Regions from separate parts of the Homo sapiens genome. Here region 2 is linked to region 1. Evidence: promoter capture Hi-C in 16 types of primary human blood cells and fetal thymus (Javierre and others, 2016). All regions are on one chromosome and are shown on one strand. Each heading gives the region's core, a stretch centred on a gene start or on the middle of the fragment in contact. The rest is flanking DNA. Distances are from core to core; before and after follow the strand shown.

Region 1 (7,872 bases), core at 2,418-4,917:
AAGCCCGTTTTCCTTATAAATTCCCCAGCCTCAGGTGTTCCTTTACAGCAACACACACCGACTAAGACAACTAGTGACCTCTCCTGCTCCGACGCCCGACGCCAAGCCCTCACGCTACTGTCCCAAACTTGGAGGCGCCGAGGAGCCTAGTGAAGGGGAGGAAAAGTAGAAGCATGAGGCAGGGGCATGGAGGAGAAACCCGCCAAGCTCCCCACGCGCCTTGTAGGCTTCCCATGTGGGCAGGTCTGGGATGGGGCAAGGGAGTGGTTTTAACTTCAAATGCCATCTGGAGTTTCAACTGTTTTGATAGTTAGATGTTGTAATTACTGAAATTGGATTTGTGTGAATAAAAGTTACCCAAGGGATTTTTATTATCTTGGATGGACCAGAAAAACCAAGAAACCTACCTTCAATTTCATCCAAGGTCAGAGGAGAACCCAACCCACCGACCAGGCTTGAAAAGGTAGTGGGAGAAAGAATTGTTTTCGGATTACACCCCACAAGGCTCCCGTGTTCAATAAAACTGTGACACAAACACTGGGAACAATTCTGGTGAATTTAGGAAGAAAGGAATTGATTGACGGGACACTGGGTGGCTCAGAGTCACTGGGTGGGCTGGAGAAACCACTTCAGCAATTGGGAGACCACAAAGGGAACCGCGGGCTCCAGAATGTGGAGATGATGCCACCACCTTCCTGATGCCCACGAGACTCTGTGTTGCTGTTGTCCCCTCTACCAGGATGCATTTTTCACTGTCCCCCTTCCTGAGTCACTTGTCCCTATGGCATGGTCTGGGTGTGATATGGTATGGCTCTTTGTCCCCACCCAAATCTCATCTCACATTGTAATCCCCGCATCAAGGGAGGAGCCTGGTGGGAGGTGATTGGATCGGGGGGCAGTTTCTCCCATGAGTCGTCACTCATGAGTTCTGGTTGTTTGATAAGTGTCTGGCACTTCCCCGCCGTGCTCTCTCTCTCTCTCCTGCCACATGTGAGACTAACACGTGCCTTGCTTCCCCTTCGCCTTCGGCCGCGATGGTAAGTTTCCAGAGGCCTCCCCAGCCACGTGGAACCGTGAGTCAATTAAACCTCTTTCCTTTCTAAATTACCCAGTCTCAGGTAGAATCTTCATTGCAGTGTGAACATGGACTAATACAGAGAGGAAACATCTGATTGGCTGAGCCTGGTCACATGCTTGACTCCAGCCCCAAGGGGCACTGGGAAAAACAGATTCAGCTTAACAACAGGGATATGTCCTGAGAAATGCATTGTCAGGCAGTTTCATTGTGTGAACATCGTAGGGTGCACTTACACAAACCCGCATGGCATAGCCTACTGCACACCTGGGCTATACATGTTAGCCTACATGGCATAGCCTACTGCACACCTGGGCTATACGGGTTATCCTGTTGCTCCTAGGCCACAAGCCTGTGCAGCATGTTTCTGTACTGAATACTGTAGGCAATCGCAACACAATGGTGTATCTAAACATAGAAAAATATCGTTCAAAATATGGTAGGAAAAATAAAAATATGGTACACCTGTGTAAGGCGCTTACCATGAATGGAGCTTGCAGGACTGGAGGTTGCTCTGGGTGAGTCAGTGAGTGGTTGGTGAGTGAATGGGAAGGCCTGGGACATTACCGACCACTGCTGTAGACTTTGTAAACGCTGTACATTTAGGCTACACCACATTTACGGAAGATTTTTTCTTTCCTCAATAGTAATGTAACCTTAGCTTACTGTACCTTTTTTTTCCTTTATAAACTTTTCAATTTTTAAAAACCTTTGGACTTTTCTATAATAATACTTAGCATAAAACACCAACACATAGAGCTTCACAAAGTATTTTCTTTGTACCCTTAGTCTTTTGTTCTTTTTTTTTTTTTTTGAGGCAGAGTCTCCCTCTTGTCACCCAAGCTGGAGTGCAATGGTGTGTCTCGGCTCACTGCAACATCCGCCTCCTGGGTTCAAGCTATTCTCCTCCCTCAGCCCCCCAAGTAGCTGGGATTACAGGTGCGCACCACCACGCCCAGCTAATTTTTGTGTTTTTAGTAGAGACGGGGCTTCACCATGTCGGCCAGGCTGATCTCGAATTTCTGACCTCAGGTGATCCGCCTGCCTCGGCCTCCCAAAGTGCTGGGATTACACCACGCCCAGTCCCCCTTTTTTTCTATTAAAAATTTTTTTTTTAACTTTTAAACTTTTTAGTTAAAAACTAGACACTAACACACACATGAGCCTAGGCCTACATAGGGTCAGGACCATCAGTATCACCATCTCCACCTCCACATCCTGTCCCACTGGAAGGACTTCAGAGGCAATGCATGCATGGAGCTGTCACCTCCTATGATGACAATGCCTTCTTCTGGAAACCTCCTGAAGGATCTGCTGAGTCTGTTTACAGTTAACTTTTTTTTTAATAACTAAAAAGAGTACACTCTTATTAGCAATTAAAAACACAGTGTAGTAAATACGTAAACCAGCAACATAGTTGTTTATTATTATTAAGTATTAAGTACTACACATAATTGTATGGGCTATACTTTTATATGACTGGCAGTGCGGTAGGTTTGTTTACAGCAGCATCAACACAAACACATGAGTGATGTGTTGCACTCTGACCTTACAATGGCTGTGACGTCACTAGGCAATAGGAATTTTTCAGCTCCATTGTAATTTTACGGGACCACTGTGGTATGTGCAGTCATTGTTGCCTGAAACGTCGTTATGTGGTGCATGGCTGCATAATAGTAGGTGGCTGGTGTCTCCCATCAAAACTGTTTTGGAGGGGCAAATCCTGAATACAGGAACGTGATTCAGATGATTGGCCCCTGGTGGGGAAGGGAGGGCAAAAATTAATATCTTTGAAAAGGGCAAACTGAAGTGATGACCGAGTTTACCTAGAAAATATCAAGATTACACATTCTGCCACTAGACTAAGGGAAGGTTTGAAAACTAGATTATTACACAAAACACACTATTATAGAAAAATAAAGATACCAATAAAGATACTTTGGACACCTGAGTTTGTGGCTATGAAATTCATACTCACCCCAGAGATAACGCGAGACACGAACAAAAGTAATCAATGAAAAACTGCTGGCATACTGACTGCTTGAACACTGTGGGCACTCGCTCAGTGTGGGACAAGCGTGCTGGCTAAAGTCCCTCCCCTTCCCTCCCTCCCCTCCCTGTCCTCCCCACCTCCCCCTGCCTCCCACCCCCACCCCCCACCCCATTACCTCACTGCTGCCAGCCTTCCCTTTCCCATCAGTCCTCCGTTAGGCGCAGAGCCCTGGCTCCTGCGGGGCCAGGCTGGACGTGGCTTCCAGTGACAGGGCCCTTTGTCTCACAGGTGGGAGGCTGGCGTGCGACCTTCATCGGCTCCCACGTCTCTGCCTCCGTGCTCTGGCAGCTGGAGTGGGTGCAGCATGCAGCAAGGATACGGAGATGCCATGGTGGGCCACCGTGACTGCCGACCCTTCTAGGACTGCACCCCCGTCAGTCCTGGCTGCCCCAGGCCCTAGACTCAAAGCCTCTCTTCCAGTCCCCACAGGGAACAGGGCCCCAGGAGGAGAGCAGGCTGCCCCCGTGCCCCGGGCCCTCAGAGGGTGAATTTGGACCTTTCCTGTTGTATTTTGCCCACTCTCTGACATTCCTCTTCCCCACCTTCAAAGCTCAAATGGTTCCCCAGGAAGCCTGCACTAGTCACTCTGATCTCTCCCTCCTCTGAACCCTGTGCTGCCAGGTCACATGCAAAACACGTGTCATTAAAGCTGGAAAAGACCTTCAGAATGACTTGGTCCAAACTCCCCATTTTACAGAAGGGCAAGTTGGAGCCCAGAGATGATGTTAGCCCACCACAGCTGTACAGATGCACCAGGGGACAATGGCAGAGTCCAGATCCCCGGGACCTCGGGACACAGGACTCCCTCCTTACTTCGGGGACACTGCATGTGCTGCCTTGGGTGGTCTGCTGTGCCTCCCCATGAGGGCACGTCCCATGGAAATGGGCTCTTTTTCTTTCCCAGGCAGAGAGCTGGAGGTGCCCAGGGCCCCACACCTGACATGGCCAGGGTGGGCAGGGACCAGTCCATCATCATTCCCTAAGCAGTTATTGGAGCTCTGAGGTCCCTGATAAGTAACACTCCAGCACCAGTGGGTGGTAACTCCTTCAGGCAGAAGGCTGAGCACGGTTTCCATGGAGACCGCCCAGGCTCTGGTTTCCAAGACAACACTTGCACGAGGTTACAGAGCTTCCTATTTATGTCAACTTAACATTTCCAACTGCTCTATTCTTCTGGCCAAACCCGGGCCTAATGCAAGGCCTCCATTCTAGGATGGGTGACAGTCCTCGAGGGCTGGAGGGAAGTGGCTGAGACTCCGTGCAGTTAGGTGAAAGTGAGACATTGCAGCCAGCAGGGCCTCCTCAAGCCCAGGGGCAGGTGTACAGAGACCAATACATGCTCATGCTTATGAATTATAAAAAGGTGTAGAAAGAGACGTAGTCCTACAGCTTCCTGCCATCCCTGCTCTCCAGAGGGAACTGGTGTTACAAGGCTTTGAGTGCGCTTCCAGAAATAGCACATGCACAGCCATAGCGCTATCACTTAAAAAATTCACAAACGGGATAGAGATAAATATATATTCTTGCTCTTGCCACCTGCTTTACCCTAATTATAGATTTCGGAGAACTTTACACATCAGCACAAATAGATCTACCTCATTCTTTGTAATAGCAACAAAATACTGTACTTTTTTAAAATACCAAGTCTCCAACTAAAGGACATTTGTCTTTAGTTTCTTGCTATTATAACAATAAATATGCTTGTACATATACTTTTGCATATCCTATGGAGTACATCCATAGGATACATTCTGGGCCAAAAACATTGCATTTTAAAATTTGATTTTGTCAAACTAATTTACTCCCATTACAGGCCAATGTTACAAAAAACATATATCTAAAATTCCTAAACAAAATGTTAGCAAATGGAATCCAGTAGCATAGATATAAGAAAATACCTCATGACTAAATCAGTTAGCAATATTCGCCACATTAACAGATATGCAAACATATGAATAGATGCAGAAAAAACATTTGATAAAACAATTTAATATCAATCCTTGATTAAAAATAAAAACACTTTGAAAACTAAGAATAGAGAACTTCTTAAATCTCAAAGAGTATTCTTCTAATATTTACAGCTAAACTATATTCAAGGTGAATTTCCTTTTAAATCAAGAACAAAACAAGATTTGTGGCTATCACCATGGTGCCAGAGCTCCTACCCAGTAAGATAGCACAAGAAAAATAAATAAAAGTTTTAATTATTTGAATGGAAGAAACAAAATTTACTCATAATCAGTTACCAGAATTGCTTGTCTACAAAGCACAAGGCTGGGCACTGTAGCTCCCGCTTGTAATCCCAGCACTTTGGGAGGCTGAGGCAGGTGGATCACTTGAGGTCAGGAGTTCGAGACCAGCCTGGCCAACATGGCAAAACCCCGTCTGTACTAAAAAGACAAAAATTAGCCAGGTGTAGTGGCATGGGCCTGTAATTCCAGCTACTCGGGAGGCTGAAGCAGGAGAATCGCTTGAACCCTAGAGGCGGAGGTTGCAGTGAGCCTAGATTGTACCATTGTACTCCAGCCTGGGTGATAGAGTGAGACTCTGTCTCAAAAAAAAAAAAAAAAAAAAAAATTTCCTCAGAGAACTTTGTGGAATAAGAAAGACAGCCCGGCAAGTTTGCTGGATCAATACTCAAAAATAAATTATACTTCTACACATTGGCAACAAAGGTATAATTATTAAACATCATAACAACAAATATAAGGGACATAGGAATCAATGTAATGAAAGATTTGTAAGACCCCTACTGAGGAAAGTATAAAACTATGTTGGAAGACATTAACAATGCAGATTTTAAAAATACCATGTTCATGGGTGAGAGCACTCAATATCCTGATTTCAATTCTCCCCAAGTGGATCTATAGATTTCATATAAGTCCATTAAGAACCTCAACAGAAGGCCAGGCGCGGTGGCTCACACCTGTAATCCCAGCACTTTGGGAGGCTGAGGTGGGCGGATCATGAGGGCATTGAGACCATCCTGGCTAACATGGTGAAACCCCATCCCTACTAAAAATACAAAAAATTAACTGAGCACGGTGGCAGGTGCCTGTAGTCTCAGCTACTTGGGAGGCTGACACAGGAGAATGGCGTGAACCTGGGAGGCGGAGCTTGCAGTGAGCAGAGATCACGCCACTGCACTCCAGCATGAGTGACAGAGCGAGACTCCGTCACAAAAAAAAAAAAAAAAAAAAAGAACCTCAACAGAATTTTCCATGAAACTTGGCAGTTGTTTCTAAAATGCATATGAACAAAAAGGGCCAAGAATAGGCATGGCACTGCTGGAGAGAATCAAGGTAGGAAACTTTTAGTACCAGGTAGCAAGACTTACTTTAAGTGTGGTTATGGTCCAACGGATAGACCTGATGAACAAAACAGAAAGCCCAGAAGTAGACCTTACATATAGAGAAACTTGATCCTTGCAGACATATACTGTAACTCAGTGGGGAAGGAAAAACAAAAACAGAACAAATCGTTATTCCTACCTCACATCAGACCAGGGATTAAATTCCTGGGGATTCAAAAATGTAAAATACAAAACTCTAAAATGAATAGAAGAAATTGTAGAATAATGCCTCTTCAACCTTAGGATGGGAAAGATTTCTGAAATGATATAAAAGGCCCTAACCACAAGGAAAAAGATGAATAAATTTGACTGCATTAAAATCAATAATTTCTGTTCATCAAAGTGACCACAAAGAAAGTGAGAAAGCTATGTACACGTGATGCTGTTTGTAAAAAAAAAAAAAAGGTGAGAAGGCAAGCCATGAACTAACTTGGGTAAGATACTTACCACCCATCAATGAAAATATGTAAAATATAAAATGTATAAATATATAAATAACTCCTACAAATTAGTAAGAAAACAAAGCAACCAATAGAAAAATAGGCCAAAGAAAGCAAGTCGGCATTTTACAGGAAAGGAAATTTGAGGGTTCAATAAACATGTGAAACCGGCCCCACTTTTCTAGTAATCGAGGAGACACAACTAAAACCATAATGAAATACCATTTTATTTCCTATCCATTGGCAAAAAACGTATTGCTAACATGAAGTGTTGACAAGGATGTGGAACGAGTAGAATGTCTATGCGGTGCAGCTGGAAGTGTAAATTGGTTCAATGTCTTACAAAAAACAATCTGCTAGAATTTTATGAGTTGAATATTTGCACACTGTGTGACCCAGTGCTGAGGTGCCCCAGGAACCCCATCAAAGAAATGTTCATGAAAGCGTTCTGATAGTAAAAAAAAAAAAAAAAAATCAGAAAAAAATCCAAAGAGCCATGGTTAGTCATTGTTTCATAGGTATTAAGCTGTATATTCATACAATGAACTAATATACAACAGTAAAAATGAATGAAATATTACCATAGGCTTCAACATGGACACGGCTTAAAAGGTTTGGAGGGTGGGGAAGCAAGTCAGAGAATAATATGTGTATTTTGTTACCACTTTCACAGTGTTCAGATCCAAGCAAAACTTCCTCAGGGATTCTTGGATATATGGTACAATTAGAAAGCAGAACAGAGAAACCCAAGATAGGAATTACCTGGATTGGCTAATTAGTAGAGTTTAAGATTGGCTAATTTATGGAAAATTGACATATTTTCAAGATTGTCTTTGGTTCTAAGAATAGGTGTGTCTTTGCACTAATTCAGGCATTTAATGTCCCCCATGAAATACTGAGGGGAGAGGGATGGCGGGGAGTGCTCGGATGATGTCTGAGTTTCCAACAGTTC
Region 2 (7,872 bases), core at 2,046-4,545, 93 kb before region 1:
CTGTATTAGTTTTAAAATTTGTGTTATTTATTATTATTATTTTGAGACAGAGTCTCGCTCTGTCGCCAGGCTGGAGTGCAGTGGCATGATCTTGGCTCACTGTACCCTCCGCCTTCCAGGTTCAAGCGATTCTCCTGCCTCAGACTCCTGAGGAGCTGGGACTACAGGTGCATGCCACCACGCCCAGCTAATTTTTGTATTTTTAGTAGAGATGGGGTTTCACCATGTTGGCCAGGATGGTCTCGATCTCTTGACCTCATGATCCTCCCACCTTAGCCTCCCAAAGAGCTGGGATTACAGATGTGAGCCACCGTGCCTGGCCTATTGTTGCTATTATTAAAAAAAAAATTTGGAGATGAGGTCTCAGTCTGTTGCCCAGGCTGGAGTGTAGTGACATGATTATGGCTCACTGCAGCCTCAAACTCCTGGACTCAAGCTATCCTGCCACCTCAGCCTGCCGAGTAGCTGAGACTACAGGTTCGTGCCACCACACCTGGCTAATTTTTGTTTTTTTGGTTTTTGTAGAGCTGTGATCTCATTATGTGTTGTCCAGGCTGGTCTCAAACTCCTGGCCTCAAGTGATCCTCCCACCACAGTGCTGGGATGGCAGGTGTGAGCCACTGTGTCTGGCCTGTTGTTATTTTTAAATTGCTTTTCTTTTTTCAAATATTTTTGATCCATGGTTGATTGAAATCTTGGATGTGGAACCAGGGGGTAACTGAGGGCGAATTGCACTGGGCTTTCCCTTGACTAAATTTGGGCAAAATAAAATGATCTCTAACCTTTGTAAAGCTAATCAGACACCTCTAGGGTAGCAAATCCTAAAAGAAAAAGATCAGGCATATGAGTGCGTGTGTGTGTGCACGTGTATCTGTGTTGCCAAGCTGTTCCCTCCCCCACCCCCACCACTTTGCTTTTGGAGGCAAAGGAAAGGCACCCTCCTGGCTAGCAGGCCAGATGAGCCTTGTCACCTGGGGGATAGGATGCGACCCAGATCTGCTCCTGAGCACAAAGATGAGCAAAATCAAAGGAAATTGCATGAGACTGAAGACCTTCTGTGTGGTCCTCCTGGGAGTGGCAGAAGTTTCTGGTGGAGGCGCAAAACAGGCCCCTGCTACACATAACTTCCATAACCACCAATCCACAGGCAATCCACCCACCCACACCACATCCCAGGCCTCTCCTTTCCGTGCCTGACCTGTGCTCCCGTGGCCTGCATGGGTGTGAGTCGCCTCTTTCTCCACTGCAGGCCTCTTCCAGGATGTCCTGGTGAAGAACACCACTGCCTGTCCAATTATACTAGTCAGAACCCTGGGAGTGTCTCTTGACACTCCTTCTCATCGTCCGCCAAACCCAGCCCATCCCCAAAGCCTGTTGATTGTATTTCCTGCTTGTCACACAAATGCCACCAGCTTTGATGGGCACCTTGTTCCTCCCCTTTGTGGTACTTGTCACAGTTGCAATTTGCCTGTGAGCTCCGCAGAAGACAGATGCCACGGCTGCTTATTCCTTGTCGTGTCCCTGGTTCCTAAAACAGTGCCTCGTGCATCACTGGTGTTCAATAAATACTTGCCAAATCATTGAATAAATAAGCAAATGAATGAAGGAATGCAGTTTTGAGTGAGGATGGTGTTGAAAAGGAATAAAGCCTTCCCCAGTAGTGCCTGAGGTCCATGTAAGAATGTCCTAGATGATAAGACAGGAGACACACGGGCGTGGTAGATGGGCTCTCCCCACCCCTCCCCATAAGAGTGCAAAGCTGGGACAAGCCAGAGGCTTCACAGGCCTGGTAACTGGGGGGTAGGGTTTGGTGATTCCTACCCAGGGCTGGGGGCATCGGGAGGCTCTTCCTCTCTACCTGGACTGTGTTTACCAGGTGTGTTTCCCATTCATTATTTTCCAGTGGGTACTGGGTTCAAAGTTTCTATAAGCAGTGGGGGCTTTGAGGTTCGAGGAAAGTGTAGTATAGCTTTCTCTTCCTTTTAGGAAGATTTCTGTTTTTCTTTTTCTTTTTTTTTTTTTTTTTTTGAGACAGAGTCTTGCTCTGTCACCCCAGCTGGAGTGCAGTGGCATGATCGAGGCTCACTCCAACCTCCGCCTCCCAGGTTCAAGTGATTCTTGTGCCTCAGACTCCTGAGTAGCTGGGATTACAGACATGAGCCTCTGCACCCGTCCTAGGAAGATTTCAAAACGAAGATGAGTCTATTGTAATTTAGAGGGCCATTTTAAACTCCCTGTGTTGGTGGCAGATGGTTTGGGTCTGGCAGCTAGCTCTATCCCAACCTTCTCTATCCACCCTGCAACTCCCTCCCCTCCCCCTCACATTTTATTTTGAAATTTTCAAACATTCTGAAAAGTTCAAAGAAGAGTACAATGAACTTACCCTGGATTCTCCAACTGTTAACATTTTGCCACAATTGCTTTGTCTCTGTTGGTCTCTCTCTGTCTTTGTATATTTCCACATACTTTTATTTTGCTGAGCAATTTGAAAGCAAGTTGCTGACATCTTGACACTTCACTTCTAGATATCTCAGCATCTCCTAATAAGGATATTCTCCCACAAAACCACAATACCATGATCACAACCATAATAGCACCCAGTGTACTATCTGTATTCAAATCTCTACAGTTGTCCCCGGAAGAGCTTTTAATGCTGGATTTTTTTTTCCTATCCAGGATCCAATCAAGATCATGTATGATATTTGGTTGTTATGGCTCTTCAGTCTCTTTTCATCTGAAACAGTCTTTCACCTTTTTATTGTTGTTGTTGTTCTTTGTTTATGTGAAATTAGTTTTTGATAAAGAGTCCAGGACAGTTGTCTTGTAGAGTGTCCCATATGTGGGTTAATCTGATTGCTTACACAAGATTAGATGCAGGTTGAATATCTTTGGCCAGAGTTCTGTACTGCATAGGTGCCACTGTAGACTTCTCAGTCAAGTATCACATCTGGAGTAAATAATGTCAATATCACATCTGGAGTAAATAATGTCAGGCATCACAACTGGAGTAAATAATGTCAGTATCACATCTGGAGTAAATAATGTCAGTATCACATCTGGAGTAAATAATGTCAGTATCATATCTGGAGTAAATAATGTCAGTTATCACATCTGGAGTAAATAATGTCAGGCATCACATCTGGAGTAAATAATGTCAGGCATCACATCTGGAGTAAATAATGTCAGGCATCACATCTGGAGTAAATAATGTCAATATCACATCTGGAGTAAATAATGTCAGTTATCACATCTGGAGTAAATAATGTCAGTTATCACATCTGGAGTAAATAATGTCAGTTATCACATCTGGAGTAAATAATGTCAGGTATCACATCTGGAGTAAATAATGTCAGTATCACATCTGGAGTAAATAATGTCAGTATCACATCTGGAGTAAATAATGTCAGTATCACATCTGGAGTAAATAATGTCAGGCATCACATCTGGAGTAAATAATGTCAGGTATCACATCTGGAGTAAATAATGTCAGTATCACATCTGGAGTAAATAATGTCAATATCACATCTGGAGTAAATAATGTCAGGTATCACATCTGCAGTAAATAATGTCAGTATCACACCTGGAGTAAATAATGTCAGGCATTACATCTGGAATAAATAATGTCAGTATCACATCTGCAGTAAATAATGTCAGTTATCACATCTGGAGTAAATAATGTCAGGCATCACATCTGGAGTAAATAATGTCAGTATCACATCTGGAGTAAATAATGTCAGGTATCACATCTGCAGTAAAAAACATCAGTATCACATCTGGAGTAAATAACATCAGGTATCACATCGGGAGTAAATAATGTCAGTATCGCAACTGGAGTAAATAATGTCAGGCATCACATCTGGAGTTAATAATGTCAGGCATCACATCTGGAGTAAATAATGTCAGTATCACTTCTGCAGTAAGTAATGTCAGGTATCACATCTGGAGTAAATAATGTCAGGTATCACATCTGGAGTACATAATGTCAGTATCACATCTGGAGTAAATAATGTCAGGTATCACATCTGGAGTAAATAATGTCAGGCATCACATCTGGAGTACATAATGTCAGCCACTCTTGGTCATTCTGAGTTTGATCACTAATCCTCACTCTGCTTCCCCTTTTGTAAGTAATTTTTAGAATCTTCACATGGTCACAGGATTAACTGAATATCCAAGTCACCAAACAGTTTTGGCAACTCTTGGTGATGCTTACCTGAAGGAAGCATTACATTGGAGGTTGGAAAATGGTAGTTTTTCATTCTTTTATTCCTGCTACATTTACTAGCTGGCCTTTTTTTCTGTAAGAATTTCCAAATCCCACTATATTAAAAACATTAATCACTGTGGGTTCGTGGAGTTTTAAAAATGCTATAATTGAAACTACAGTTATTCATTTTGATGTTCAAATCATCCCACATTTGAGCAGTGGGAGCCCTCAGGTCAGCTCCTGAATCCTTTTGACATGATCACATTTATCTTCCAAAACTGTTTTGCTTTCTGGTGTGACAAGAGATTCCATGCTCACGTTGTACATTTTCACCCCTGACCTAGAATCTACCATTTCTCTAACGAGCCCTGGTGCCTTTAGTGGTGAATGGTATAGAGAAAGAAAGAACCTGGTGATATATGCGATCATTGCTACTCGGCTGTCATTCAGTGGACAGGATTAGAAAACTCATTTTAAAAAAAATTACAAGTTCAAACTGATATATTTCCTACTCAAATTTAACATTACAGTTTTTCTTTCACTTCTTTACTGACTACTAGTATCTTTTTTCCCCGTCAGTAAAATATATATTTGCTTATTTGCTTTCCACTATACATGCACAAAAGAGTTTCAGAATTACAAGACCAATATTACTGCTAACAGTAAACATACTAAATAGAAGTTTTTCTATAGTTCTTCTGTTCTTAGAACAGATCCTTCTCCACAATCAGAGTGTTTGCTCTGTGTGGTTGTGGTATCAGTTTGAGGCGTTATCAGTTTGATTTCCTTCTTTTGCATTCTATTGTAGGGTATTCTTTATCCCACCTTTTTAACATTTAATTTTATTTTTAAAATACGTGAAACATTTATGTAGTTAAAAAGTAAAAATGGGTTGAGAATAGTGGCTCACACCTGTAATCCCAGCACTTTGGGAGGCCGAGGTGGGAGAATTGCTTGAGCCCAGGAGTTTGAGACCAGCCTGGGCAACGTAGGAAGACCTCATTTCTACAAAAATAAATAAATAAATAAATAAATGAATAAATAAATAAATAAATAGCTGGGTACGGTGGCGTGTGCCACTGGGAGGCTGAAGCAGGAGGATTGCTTGAGCCCAGGAGGCTGAGGCTCCAGTGAGCCACTGCACTCCAACCTTGGTGAGAGAGCGAGACCCCGTCTCTGAAAAAATAAAAAAATAAAAAGTGACAATGATATGAGATATACAAGAGAAGCCTCACTGCCGTTCCTATCCCTTCTACCCCATTCCTTCCCACCTCCACGGTGAATGCCTTCCATTAGTGTCTGTTTAATACTGTATTTCTTTTCACAAAAATAACACATACACGTATTCATTTTCTCTTCTTTCCATATGAAAGATGGTATAATATATATCCTCCTTTGCATCTTACCCCGAACCTCATTATCCGTTCACACAGACCTCTCATGCTCACATTCATTCCTTCCCATTTCAGAACATTCTGCTGTCACATGGAACCTGTTCAGGGTTGGTTTTTGTCTAATCTATATTAATGCTAGTTATTTCAGAAGACCATGCAATACCCGTGAAAACTTCCCCTTCGCTCTCAGAAAGTTTGCACAAAAATCAACTCACAAAAGGCAGGTTAATTAGATAAAACACTATGAATTTATTTTAACGTGTCAAGCATGGGGAACTGTAGCAGAGTGATTATTCGATAACCCAGCGGGGTACATATGCTTATATACCCTTCTTCTTAGGGGAAAGGGAGATGGGGCAGTGTGGATGATTTTAGTTTAAGTGATTTTTAGAGAAATTCAATGGGCTTGAAGAACATACAATGGCCTGGGACAAAGTCTGTTGTGCCTGCAGAGTATACAACGGTTTGTGACAAAAGTCTGCCTAGCTGTGTTGATAGATGTCAGTCTTTCTTCCTGGATATGAGTTCAGTTCATGAAAATTTAGGAAGGGACCAGGAGTAATTGTTTTCTTCTTTAGTGAGTCTGGGCTTTAGGCAGATAAGGGAACTTCAGAGAACAACCTCATTCTGTGCTTTGAGAGAGACAGACTGAGACAGAGGCGGGGGTTGGGGGAGGTCAGAGAAATCTTGTGGCTTCTTCTTCAGTTCAGCATGTCACAGAGCCATATTTGGGGGTATTGGTTTCTGAGCCCCAGTCTCCATGATACCGGCTCCTTTTGAACTGGCATGACCTCTGGATTCTGAGAGTGTGAGAAGGCAATAGGGCGAAGGTCCAAATAAGGGTGAAGGACACAATGCAGGCTGTCCCCTCCTGTCTGGCCTCTAGTGTTCTTGTGTCTCTTGGGACGTGCGTGGCTTGAGAGATGGGTTTGCGGAGAGGGGCTTTGCCACTGGAGGATTATGAAGTGTTGCCAGGAGAGAAGTGGTTTCTGTGCCAAACACTTGCCTCACTCAAAGTGTAAACTTTTCAAAAATTAAGGCACAATTTATATAGCATAAAATTTGCCACTTTAACCATTTATTTTTCTTTCTTTCTTTCTTTCTTTCTTTTTTTTTTGAGACAGAGTCTTGCTCTGTCAGGCTGGAGTGCAGTGGCGCAATCTCGGCTCACTGTAACCTTGGCCTCCCGAGTTCAAGCGATTCTCCTGCCTCAACCTCCCGAGTAGCTTGGATTACAGGCATGCATCACCATGCCCAGGTAATTTTTGTATTGTTGGTAGAAGTGGGGTTTCGCCGTTTTGGCCAGGCTGGTCTTGAACTCCTGACCTCAGACGACCCACCTGCCTCGGCCTCCCAGAGTGCTGGGATTTCAGGCAGAGCCACCGCACCCGGCCCACTTTAACCATTTTAAAGTGTACATCCAGTGGCTTCAGTACGTTCACCGTCTCATTCAACCATAACATTTTTATCACCCCCAAAGGAAACCTCATACACATTAAAAAACCACGCCCCATTTCCCCCTCCCCCAGGCCCTGGCAACCACCAACCTACTTTCCGTCTCGAATGGATTTGCCTATCCTGGATATTTCATACATATGAAATCATACAATATGTGTCCTTTTGTGTCTGGCTTCTTTCACTTAGGTTCATCCAAGCTGCAGCATGCGTTGGTAGTGCCTTCTTTTTATGATGAAATATTCCGTTTTATGAATGTACTACAGTCTAGTTTATCCATTTACAGCTTATGGACAGCTGGGCTGTTTTTACATTTTGGTCACTGTTTTAACCTGTGTTTCTATTCTTCTGGGTACATACTAGAAATGGGACTTCTGGGTCATATGGAAACTCCATGTTTAAATTTTTTTTTTTTTTTGAGATAAAGTCTCACTCTGTCACCCAGGCTGGAGTGCAGTGGCATGACCTCAGCTCGCTGCAACCTCTGCCTCCCGGGTTCAAGCGATTCTTCTGCCTCAGCCTCCCGAGTAGCTGGGACTACAGGCATGTGCCACTACGCCAGGCTAATTTTTGTATTTTTAGTAGAGTCGGGGTTTCATAATGTTGGCCAGGCTGGTCTCGAACTCCTGACCTCGTGGTCTGCCCGCCTTGGCCTCCCAAAGTGCTGGGATTACAGGCGTGAGCCACTGCACCTGGCCCCATGTTTAAATTTTTGATGAACCAACAAATTGATTTCCACATCAGCTGCACCGTTTTACATTTTTCACAAGCAAAGTAGGAGGGTTCCGGTTTTCCCACATCCTTGCCAATGGTTAT

Evidence for each region. The method cuts DNA at HindIII sites, captures the fragments that hold promoters and counts their contacts. A CHiCAGO score of 5 or more calls a contact.
Region 2: a fragment that was not itself captured here is called in contact with the fragment with the promoter of GCSIR in region 1 in 5 of 17 cell types (M2 macrophages, M0 macrophages, M1 macrophages and 2 more); the score reaches 7.6 in M2 macrophages.

Annotation. Positions count from the first base shown.
Region 1 is chr2:230,882,341-230,890,212 of GRCh38, reverse strand. It overlaps GCSIR (GPR55 cis regulatory suppressor of immune response RNA), which reads right to left and starts at 3,667. Exons shown (of 4, transcript NR_038238.1): 1 at 3,244-3,667. RefSeq lists an enhancer at 4,235-4,304. The HindIII fragment of the contact is 18,371 bases long and covers 1-7,872 here.
Region 2 is chr2:230,975,367-230,983,238 of GRCh38, reverse strand. No RefSeq gene overlaps it. Among named protein-coding and RNA genes, the nearest start is that of SPATA3-AS1, 17 kb to the left of the region's middle. RefSeq lists enhancers at 1,350-1,489, 6,121-6,170, 7,275-7,394. The HindIII fragment of the contact is 9,305 bases long and covers 1-7,872 here.